3 separate regions of the Homo sapiens genome follow, and all the other regions are linked to region 2. The links are contacts of gene promoters, found by promoter capture Hi-C in blood cells and fetal thymus (Javierre and others, 2016). All regions are on one chromosome and are shown on one strand. The core of a region is centred on a gene start or on the middle of the fragment in contact, and the rest is flanking DNA. Distances in the headings are between cores, read along the strand shown. Region 1 has its middle 21 kb from the start of DNAH11. Region 2 holds the start of SP8 (Sp8 transcription factor). Region 3 overlaps DNAH11 (dynein axonemal heavy chain 11).

What was found. The method cuts DNA at HindIII sites, captures the fragments that hold promoters and counts their contacts. A CHiCAGO score of 5 or more calls a contact.
Region 1: a contact is called between a fragment that was not itself captured here and the fragment with the promoter of SP8 in region 2, in 2 of 17 cell types (M2 macrophages and M0 macrophages). The highest score is 7.3, in M2 macrophages.
Region 3: a fragment that was not itself captured here is called in contact with the fragment with the promoter of SP8 in region 2 in 1 of 17 cell types (M2 macrophages); the score reaches 5.4 in M2 macrophages.

The regions. Positions count from the first base shown.
Region 1 is chr7:21,520,489-21,523,851 of GRCh38, forward strand. No RefSeq gene overlaps it. Among named protein-coding and RNA genes, the nearest start is that of DNAH11, 21 kb to the right of the region's middle. The HindIII fragment of the contact is 3,957 bases long and covers 1-3,363 here.
Region 2 is chr7:20,785,259-20,788,463 of GRCh38, forward strand. It overlaps SP8 (Sp8 transcription factor), which reads right to left and starts at 1,628. Exons shown (of 2, transcript NM_182700.6): 1 at 1,520-1,628; 2 at 1-537. The coding sequence starts at 1,540. The HindIII fragment of the contact is 6,810 bases long and covers 345-3,205 here.
Region 3 is chr7:21,545,321-21,548,626 of GRCh38, forward strand. The region is part of intron 2 of DNAH11 (dynein axonemal heavy chain 11); the gene reads left to right. Among named protein-coding and RNA genes, the nearest start is that of DNAH11, 3.9 kb to the left of the region's middle. RefSeq lists an enhancer at 1-841. The HindIII fragment of the contact is 2,659 bases long and covers 179-2,837 here.

The DNA of each region.
Region 1 (3,363 bases), core at 720-3,219, 740 kb after region 2:
AAACTTATAAAAGAGCTGTTAGACTTGTTGATATATTTTATCATATATCATTCTTCTTTCTACGTTAGAAATGCAAGTGAAATGTATTACCCAAAGTAATCTATGGATTCAATGTAACCTCTATCAAAACACTAACAACATTCTTCACAGAAATAGAAAAAAATGCTAAGATTTGTATGGAACCACAAAAGACCCTGAATAGCCAAAGCAATCTGAACAAAAAGAACAAAGCTGGGAGGCATCACACTACCAGACTTTGAAATATATTACAAAGCTATAGTACCCAAAACAGAATTATACTGGCCTAAAAACAGTCTAGGTAGACCAATGGAACAGAATAGAGAACTCAGAAATAAATCCACGTATTCACAGCCAGCTGATTTTCAACAAAGTCTCCAAGAACATATAACCGGAGGCTGGGTGTGGTGGCTCATGCCTCTAATCCCAGCACTTTGAGAGGCTATGGTGGGAAGATCACTTGAGGCCAGGAGTTCAAGAACATACAATGGGGAAAGGATAGTCTCTTCAACAAATGGTACTGGGAAAACTATCCATATGAAGAAGAATAAAACTAGACCCCTATCTCTTACCATATACAAAAATCAACTCAAAATGGATTAAAGAATTAAAGGTAAGACCCAAAACTGAAATCACTGGAAGAAAACATGGGGAAACACATCAAGCCATTGGTCTAGGCAAAGATTTTTTTGGATAAGACCTCAAAAACACAGTTAACAAAAGCAAAAATAAATGGGGTTATATTAAATTAAAATGCTTCTGCACAGCAAAGGAAAACAACAGAGTGAAGAGACAACCTAAAAAATGGGAGAAAATATTTGCAAGCTATCCATCTGGCAAGAGATTCATATCCAAAATGTATAAGGAACTCAACCAAGAGCAAAAAAGCAAATAACTTGATTAAAAAATGGGCAAAATAATCTGAATTGACATTTCTCAAGAGAAGACATACAAATGGCCAACAGATACATGAAAAAAATACTCAACATCACTAATCATCAGGGAAATGCAAGTCAAAATGACAATGAGATATCATCTCATCCCAGTTAAAATGGCTATTATCAAATAAACAAAAAATAGCAAATGCTGACAAGGATGCAGAAAAAGAAGGCCTCTTATATACTGTTGGTAGGAATGCAAATTAGTACAGTCATTATAAAAAACAGTATGTAAGTTCCTCAGAAAACTAAAAATAGAAATAGCATTTAATTCAGCAATTCTACTACTGAGTATATATTCGAAGGAAAGGAAATCAGAATGTTGAAGAGATATTTGCACTCCCATGTTTATTGCAGCACTGTTTACAATAGCTAAGATATGGAATCAACCAAAGCACCCATCAATGGACAAATGGGTAAAGAAAATGTGGTGTATATACACAATGGAATATTATTTAGCTGTAATAAAATGATTTGTAATTTTTGGCAACATGGATGATCCTGGAGGATATTATGGTAAGTGAAATAAGCTAAGCACAGAAAAACACTGCACATTCTCACTCATATGTGGAAGCTAAAAAAGTTGGTCTCATAGAATAGAGGTTACCAGAGGCTGGGGAGGGGTAGGGAGTTGGCAGAGGGATAGAGAGGTTGGTTAATTGATACAAAATTAAAGTTAGATAAGAGTAATAAATTCTATAGCACAGCAGCGTGGCTATAATTAACAATAAATTATAGTGTATTTTAAAATACCTAGAAGAGAGGATTTTGAATGTTCTCTACACAAATAAATGGTAAATGTCTGAGGTGATGGATGTGTCAATTACCCTGATTTGATCATTACACAATACATACAATTATGTGCCAATTTGAAATACATACATATATAAATGAAATAGTTTCTTCACATCAGTGACTTTGTTTGTTTGTTTGTTTGTTTGTTTGTTTTTGAGACAGAGTTTCACTCTGTTGCCCAGGGTGGAATGCAGTGGAATGATCTCGGCTCACTGCAGCCTTGACCCCCTGGGCTCAAGCGATCTTCCCACCCTAGCCTCCTGAGTATCTGGGACTATAGGTGCACACCACCATGCCTAGCTAATTTTTAATTTTTTTGTAAAGACAGGGTCTCACCATGTTTTCCAGGCTGGTCTCAAACTCCTGGGTTCAAGTGATCCTCCTGCCTCAGCCTCTCAAAGTGTTGGGGTTACAGATGTGAGCCACCATGCCTGGCCAGTGATAACCTTATCATGTTTTTGCCCACGAGTGGTAGTTTTAAAACTATGTTCACAAATTTTTTGATATTCCTCTCTTCAATAGATGGAGCCTAAGTCCCCTCCACTTGGGTGTGGCATGGACTTAATGACTTGCTTCTAATGAATAGCATAAAGTGGATGTAACAGCTGTGATTTCAGGCACTAGGTCATAAAAAGTCACTGTGGCTTCCCTCTTAGTTCTCTTAGATTGTTTGCTTCAGGGAGGCCACACACTATGTCATACATAATCCTATCAAGAGGCCCAATATTGCTCAGATATCTGGGCAATAACCACCTAAGTGAGCTTGGAAGTGGTCCTCCAGCCCAGTCAAGTATTCAGATGACTGCAGTCCCAGCCAACATTTGGACTACATCTCATGAGAGACCCTGAACTGGCAAACCCAACTAAGCTGGTCCTAGATTCTTGACCAACAGAAACTAATAAATGTTTGTTGTTTTAAACTGCTACATTTTGGGGTAATTTGTTATGCAATAATAGATAACTAATATACCGTAAGTCAACAATTTTCGACCAATACCTTCTGTGCCCTTAAAAGCATAAACGATGCAGCATTTCTTAAAAGGAGCCTCCATTATTATCTTTGGGAATTTTCTCTACACTAATGGTATACATTCTACAAGTTTTGCTGGAGATATATGGGCAATAATACCTACAACATACCTGCCTGTTGGCAGACCACAAATGACACATCTCTCTTTCAAAGATGTTAAAATACGGGGGAAAATGTGCTTCATAGAATCAGTGAAAGACGTTTTAGGTCATGTTTATTATCTGCCTTCCGCCTCCATCAACCCCTTTCTCTCTCTAAGAACTTGATCTTGTCCATTTCAGGACAAACCTGAGGTTCGTAGAGGGTTAGTGTATTTACATCCTCCACTTTACATGCACCGCACAGGGCTTGTATGGTTATGGGGGGAAAAGCCGTTGGTGTGAACTGAAAGAATGCTTTGTTAACTCAAACATTTCTCAGCCCAAGAAACCTTTGCTATGAGTGTCACAAAGGGGAATACCTTCTTTGTGGGGTCCTGAAATTGCTGGGTAAGTGGTGATGGTGGTTGTTGGGAAAGGAGCTTATGATGCTGGTGGAATTTTGGGTCTTAAAGAGGGCATATTAATCTTTAAAGAATTGGAA
Region 2 (3,205 bases), core at 378-2,877:
AGAGGTGTGCACCTTGGAGATGAACACCGGCTGGTGGGAGCCGTCCTGCGAGTGCGCGGAGGAGCCGCCGCCGCCGCCCCCGCCGCCGCCGCCGCTGCCCCCGGAAACTCCGGGGGCCTGGAAAACAGAGTAGTCGTTGGCGAAGGGCGAGCTGGAGGCGGCGGCTGCGGCGGCGGCGGCGGCGGCTGCGGCGCTGCTGGAGGTGAGGGAGAAGGCGCTGGAGCCAGGCGAGCCGCCGCAGCTGAACGAGTCGGACACCAGGGCCGCGGCAGCCGCGGCTGCTGCCGCGGCCGCCGCAGCCGCCGAGGACGAGCCGCCGTTCCTGGAGGCCCCGGACACGCCGAAGCTTGAGAGACTGGAACCCACTACGTTGCAGCTGGCGGAAGAAGAGGACGAGGAGCGTTTCCAGGGGTGGAAGCCTTTGCCGAAGGAAGAAGAGCTGTCCGAGAGGGAGGAGGGAGACGGGCTGGGGCTGCCTATCTTATTACAGGTAGCGGCAAGCATGGCCAGAGGAGTCGATCCCAACCTCGGTTCTTCCTGCGAGGAGGAGAGGAGAAGGAGTGGGGGAGGGGAGGTGGGCAAAGGGCCGGTGGGGGAGGAAAGGAAGAAATGTGCATCAGTCCTTCGGTAGCCTCCAAAGCGCCCCACTGCACCCCATCTCTCGCTGCGGCGCGCCGCCACCAACTCACCTGGCACCCCCAACAGCCCCGGCGCCCGGCCGCTTCCTACTCTACAGGAGGGGACAAGTTTGGCTGCCGGCGTCTGATTCGGGAGCAAGCACCACGCTAAAGAAGAGTTTGACAAGTATTCTCACCTAAAACAACACTCTCTTGCACACAAAGCCCCAGACACTTCGTAACAAACAAGCAAAAAGTCCAGATTGGAGAGGAAGGAAGTTTTCTTTGCCGAGAAGCCTGGGGGAAAACCATTGGATTGCTTTTAAGAGCGCTTCCCTGTAATCCGGAGAGCTTTGAAAAACCTGTTCGGGTCCCCAGAAACCCATCCTGGGTTGTTTCTCCCAGGCCAAAAGAAATCAAACTGTAGGGCTCACTCTTTCTTCCTGCTTTTCTTTCTTTCTTTTTTTAAAAGCATATCTACAGTAGTAAAAACGAGACGAGTTCAACGTACCTGCGAGACAAGGCGGGCTGCAGAATTTTTTTTTAAGGGTTAGGGGAAGAATCTGCACTTTGCCCAGAAGGAAAAACTTGCTCTCTTTACCCCCGAAATCGGTGCCTGTAAAATGGGCTGGACGCAGGTCTCCCGGGCAGGGAGCAGCGAGGCGCTGCGCGGTGGCTTGTCTAAATGCCCTTCGAACCTTTTCCTGCGCTGAAAAAAAGTGACTCTGCCCCCTTCTCCCCCTTTTTCTTTTCTCCAAACTCACTTGTATTTAAAGAAAAAAAAAAAAAGCTCTCAATAGAGAGACTGATAGCCCGTGGCCTGGCCGGGGCGACTTTAACCCCCTCCAATCGGCAATAAAAGGAAACTAATTAAACCAGCAAGAGAAAATCCTGAGACTCACCCCTAGAAGTGAAGTTGCCATCACACAAAAGTGCCCTCCTCCTCTCAGAGGATCTTTTTTATATTGATAAATCAGAGGCAGTGTTTTTTTTAGAGGTGTGCAATACAATGATCAGTTCCGCCCATTCCACCACAATTGTAGCTCCCTCTCCGGCTTTGAAGTGCCGCGGAGGCGCGGCCAGCCAATCTGCGGCCTCGCCGGGCCGCGCGGCGCGCGCGCCGTGAGGTCATCGGCGCCGCCGCCTGCCGCCGTGGTGGAAGGGGGAGTGGGAGCGGAGGGGGCGGGGGCGGCTGCGTGTGTTACAAAGCGCAAAGCGCGCGCTCGCGTGTATGAGTGTGTGTGTAACAATGTAACTGTGTGCGAGTGTGACCAGGCGTAGGAGAGGACAGTGCGGAGACTGGAGGGAGGGGGGATGGGGGTGTGACACCGTAACAGTGACAGTGTGGTAAAGGCGGGGAGTGGAGAGAGTGCAGAAAAGGGAGGGTTGTGTGATAAGATAACTGCGTGTGCGACAAAGCGGGGTAGAGGGACAGAGCAGTTAAGTGTTGGGAAGGGTGTGAGTGTACGGTAGTGTAACTGACAAACCTAGGGAGGGAAGAGGGACTCAACTGGGTGGGGGGTGAGTGTGTTTGGTGTTGGGGGAGAAGGAGGGCTGTGAACATGTGTATTTGTGCGACAGAGAAGAGGGAAGGGTGTGTGTGGGCGCTTGTGTTGTGTGCGCGCACCAAAGCTGGTAGTGGGGAATGGGAACAATGCAATAAAGTGTGTGTTTGTAAGAGAGAGACTGTCGAGCTGAAGAGAGAAACCGACTAAGTTGATGGAGGCTGAGTGAATAAATATTCACAAACGCTGCCCCTGTCGCCAACTTCCTTTGGCTCCTTGTACCTAAAATCTTGAGTGATTTTTTTTTCTTAACTTGGTAAACAGCGTCACTACATTTTTGAAGAAGATCTTTAAACCCACCTTTTCTTTCCCGGCTCTCCAACGAAATAGTAGAAAGGTTGAGAGGCTAAGGGTTATTTTTAGGGATGCGTTGGGACGTGGATGCGCGCCTGCGCGCCCATGAGTTGTTTCTTTGATGCCGTGGCTTTTTTTTTTTTTTTTTTTTTTTTTTTCCCTGAGGTGGAATTCTGCTTTAGAAGTGCACGTCTCACTCTAGGGGAGGAGGTGTGTGTGTCCCGTGGTGTTGAGTAAATTTCAATACAAAAGGATTAGATAGAGAAGAGAGTAAGCGAGGGTCGTTTTTTCTTTGGGTAAGAAATTGAAGAGCGTTTTACGGAATTTAGAAATTTTCACAGAAAACCTCACTGCCTCTTTCTGAGAAAAGAATCAGGACTTTGATCGAAATATATGGGTTCTATTTATCTAAGAATAGAGAGGAGCTTTTGACAAATCTTGGACATTTATCCAGGCGTCAGTGTCTAATGGCGATTGGGCCAGAGATCTGTCTATGAGTGTGTGTGCATGTTAATAGATACACTTAGTTCAAATTCGGTGGGGTTTAGTCATTTGCTTGCCATTTGTGTTATTAGTTGCCTTCAGAAATGCCATTACAATTTCACTGCCACCACAAGGGAACTTAAACCGCAGAAAGCACAACACCAGTGTAGCAAAAAGTCCAGTCTTTGTAGCCCTATTGAATATTCATAAGTTATAAAAACAGTTCATATTTTTAACCAGTTACAA
Region 3 (3,306 bases), core at 258-2,757, 760 kb after region 2:
GCCAGGTGGATGGAGTCATAACATCTAGACTGTTCCTGAAAGGAGCTCATGCTTACTGATGCTAATATTCAACAGGTGGCAATTGCAGGGATCATTCTCTCCCTTTCTTCCTTCCAACACAATAGAAGCAAATAAAAAGCAACTTGAATAGGTTCTTGCACCTTAGCAGCAGGTTTTAAGCTTCACATTCAGAGTAGAGACAAATTTACACTTTGAAAATGAGTATTATCAGTTCCTTTTTATACTTGTTAGAAACTAACAGTTAAAGACTAAGATTCACTCATGGCAGATAATGGGAAAAGGTGATGAAAGTGTTAGAAATGGTTCTTAAACTTTCTTTTTCTCCTCTTAAAATAGAGAAATAGTCTTCAACCAATGTTACTGACACTTTAATGTGCATAAGAACTGCCTGGGGATTTTGTGAAAGAGGTTGGTTCATTCAGTCTAGAGTGGAGCCCGAGGTTCTGCATTTCTAACCTGTTGCTGATGCTCTTTGTTTGTGGACTAGCTTTGAAGAACAACTGCCAAATAACCAGGTTCCATGGAACTAGAACCTGGCTCTCAAACTTCGCTGAACATTAGGATCACCTGGGGGAACTTGTAACACAATGCCCCAGGTCACACCCATACCAGTTAATTTAGAACGTCCTGAATGGGAGCCAAGTAGCAGCAGTTGTTCAAGATTCCCAGGTGATTCTAATGTACAGTGAGCTTTGGGAGCCACTGGGTTAGATATCTGTCTACAAGGCCAATTTCTAAATCAGACCTCTGTAATCAGTGTAGTCCTGCCAAGGCCGATATTTAAGGTAGGAAAAATGCTGACATATTTATTGCTAGTTATTTACCAGTCTCTCATGATCACACCTCTTCTACTTTTTGAGTCTCTTCTTCTGTCTTTTTGAAGGGAGGTATTTTCCTGCTGGACTAACCAAAGTCTCTCACCCCTAACTCCTGTACCCTGCCTGGGTTTCCCTTCGCTCCTGTTGAATTTAATTGGCTTTAGCTGATTTCAGGGAGGTGCTAGGAAGACAATCTTTTAACTTCAGTACCAGGAACAATTTTTGGTATGCAGCAGGTGCTCAGATTTTAATTGAACTGAATCTGATGACTTTGGTTCAATATGAGAATCTAGACCACTATCAACTGGAACTTGGAGGGGCAGGGCTACACTGTGAAATTCTTGCTCTACTATCTGTGTCTGGCAACAGAAGATACAAGCCTTTTTCAAATTTCTCTACTCTTTCTCTCAGTACCAGGATCTGCTTAATATTCTGAAAAAGGTATGCCTGCTCCTCAACATTATGATGTGTTTCCATACCAGAGTGTATTATATATTTATACTTAGCCAAAGTATATAAAATGTCATATGGTTATTTCTTTATGTATCACGTTGGCCCACATTTCAAAAGAAACAATAATTGTGAATGCTTACCAAGACATAAAGAAAATGTCATTTGGTTCTTCTCAGTCAATATCTGGGCCCCATCCTTGGAAATTCCAATTTAAAAAATCTAGAGGGGCCTGGGCTTCTGTATTTTAAAAGTGTTTCCTCAGTAATTGTATTGAATGGTTTAAGAACTGTCATAAAGAGAAACCCCACAGTTTGAAAAGAGAAACAGAAGGTAAGTAAAGAGATCCACAGCAAAGGCACACTTGCTCTTTTATCTATAGGTGTATATGTCCTTGGTGAACCTTACTTTGGTTCATAGAGAAAGTTTATTTTTCTTACAAATGCAAAAACTACACAAACTGACAACTAAAATAAGACAAAACCTCAAATTAATTGACTTACTTTGTATATATTTAATAAAATTTATTGTAATTAATAAGTACATCCCAGGTCTATTTGTTTTAAACGATATTTCTAGAGATGCTTTAGCTGTTTGAGTTACGAATTGCTTTCCAGAGCATGTGGCTCAGAATTTCGTAGTGTTTTATCCACAGCTCATGACACAGACATTAAGTTTTAAAAGAAGTTGGCTTTGTCATGGAATAATGTGAGAAACACATTTATCCTTCCAAACCCAAAGGATGGACTCGGAGACACGCAGTACAGCAGAAGCAAGACTTTTAATGGCAGTCTTGCAAGATCGGGTGTTTAGTAGGCAGGCACACCCGGGGCAGTTACAGCAGGTAATTTACTTCCTAGCATGTAAGCCCCTCTCCCAGTTCCTCAGTGGTTGAGTACTATGGGGTTACAATATTCCTGGACATTGCCTAAGTTTGCCTGGACATATGCCCCTTATAATGTTATACCCTGGCCCCCTTCCTCACTTAATTTTTGATTTCCCAATAACGAAACTTTCTTCCCTTTTATGGGCTGACTCCTCGTCTACATTCTGTTCCTTTATCATGACTTTCTACATGCATGAGCCATGAGGTTTGTCATATCCTCAGGCTGGCTGCCAGTACTTAGATTTATCATGCCTTGAAAATTGACCGTATAAAATGTTTTCTCACAAGTTCCCTCCTCTTTTCTATTTACTTTCTTTGGTTTTATTTTTATCTAAACCCTTTTGGTTCTTGAATCACTCTAAAAGTTGTTTACTTTTTTCCTTATAGGAGAGCAACTTTAATTTGGTCTCTAATAGTAGCAGATTATTTTGCTAGTAAGTTATGCACATTTGTTTATTAATAGCTATTTTTGTGCTAGTCCCCTTACACAGGAGGAATACGACATCCCATTGCTGTTAAGACTCCTGCCACAATTATGAGAGATGTAAGGATTGAACCTATCATACCTTTTCATTTTTTAAAGCAACCTTCTACCCAACCCATTAATGGGTTATTAATTTCAGCATTTTTTGCTAGTTTGTTGGCTAGGGTTGTTCTTGTAAAGCTTTTGTGATGGTGCCATCTGGGGCGGTATTCTTGGGAATGACAACACTTCCCACCCAGCATAACACATACACCCCCTTTTTCTGCTAGTGTCATGTCTAGTGCAAGCCTGTTTTCTCAGGCTATTTGGCTGGTGGCATTTAACTGGCTAGCCACCCCTTTGAGGGCGTTCTTAGTATAACTGATGAATTTTTGTTGAATATAATAGATATAGTTAATTTAATCCATGTTTGTATTAATAGTTGACCACCAAAAGAGTGCTAACTTAAACCCAGAGCTCTTTGGTTTTGGGCCTTAAATTTATTAGGCATCCCCCTAGGGACACCTACGGAGTTAACATATATATTGGGATTAAAAGAATTTGTCAAATATCTCCAATTTTGGTGGCCATATGTATTTTCGGGTGTCTTAGGAAATGCCAGAGTGAAGGCAATTGGACTAAAGCACAAGTCCTGATCCAACTGGAAG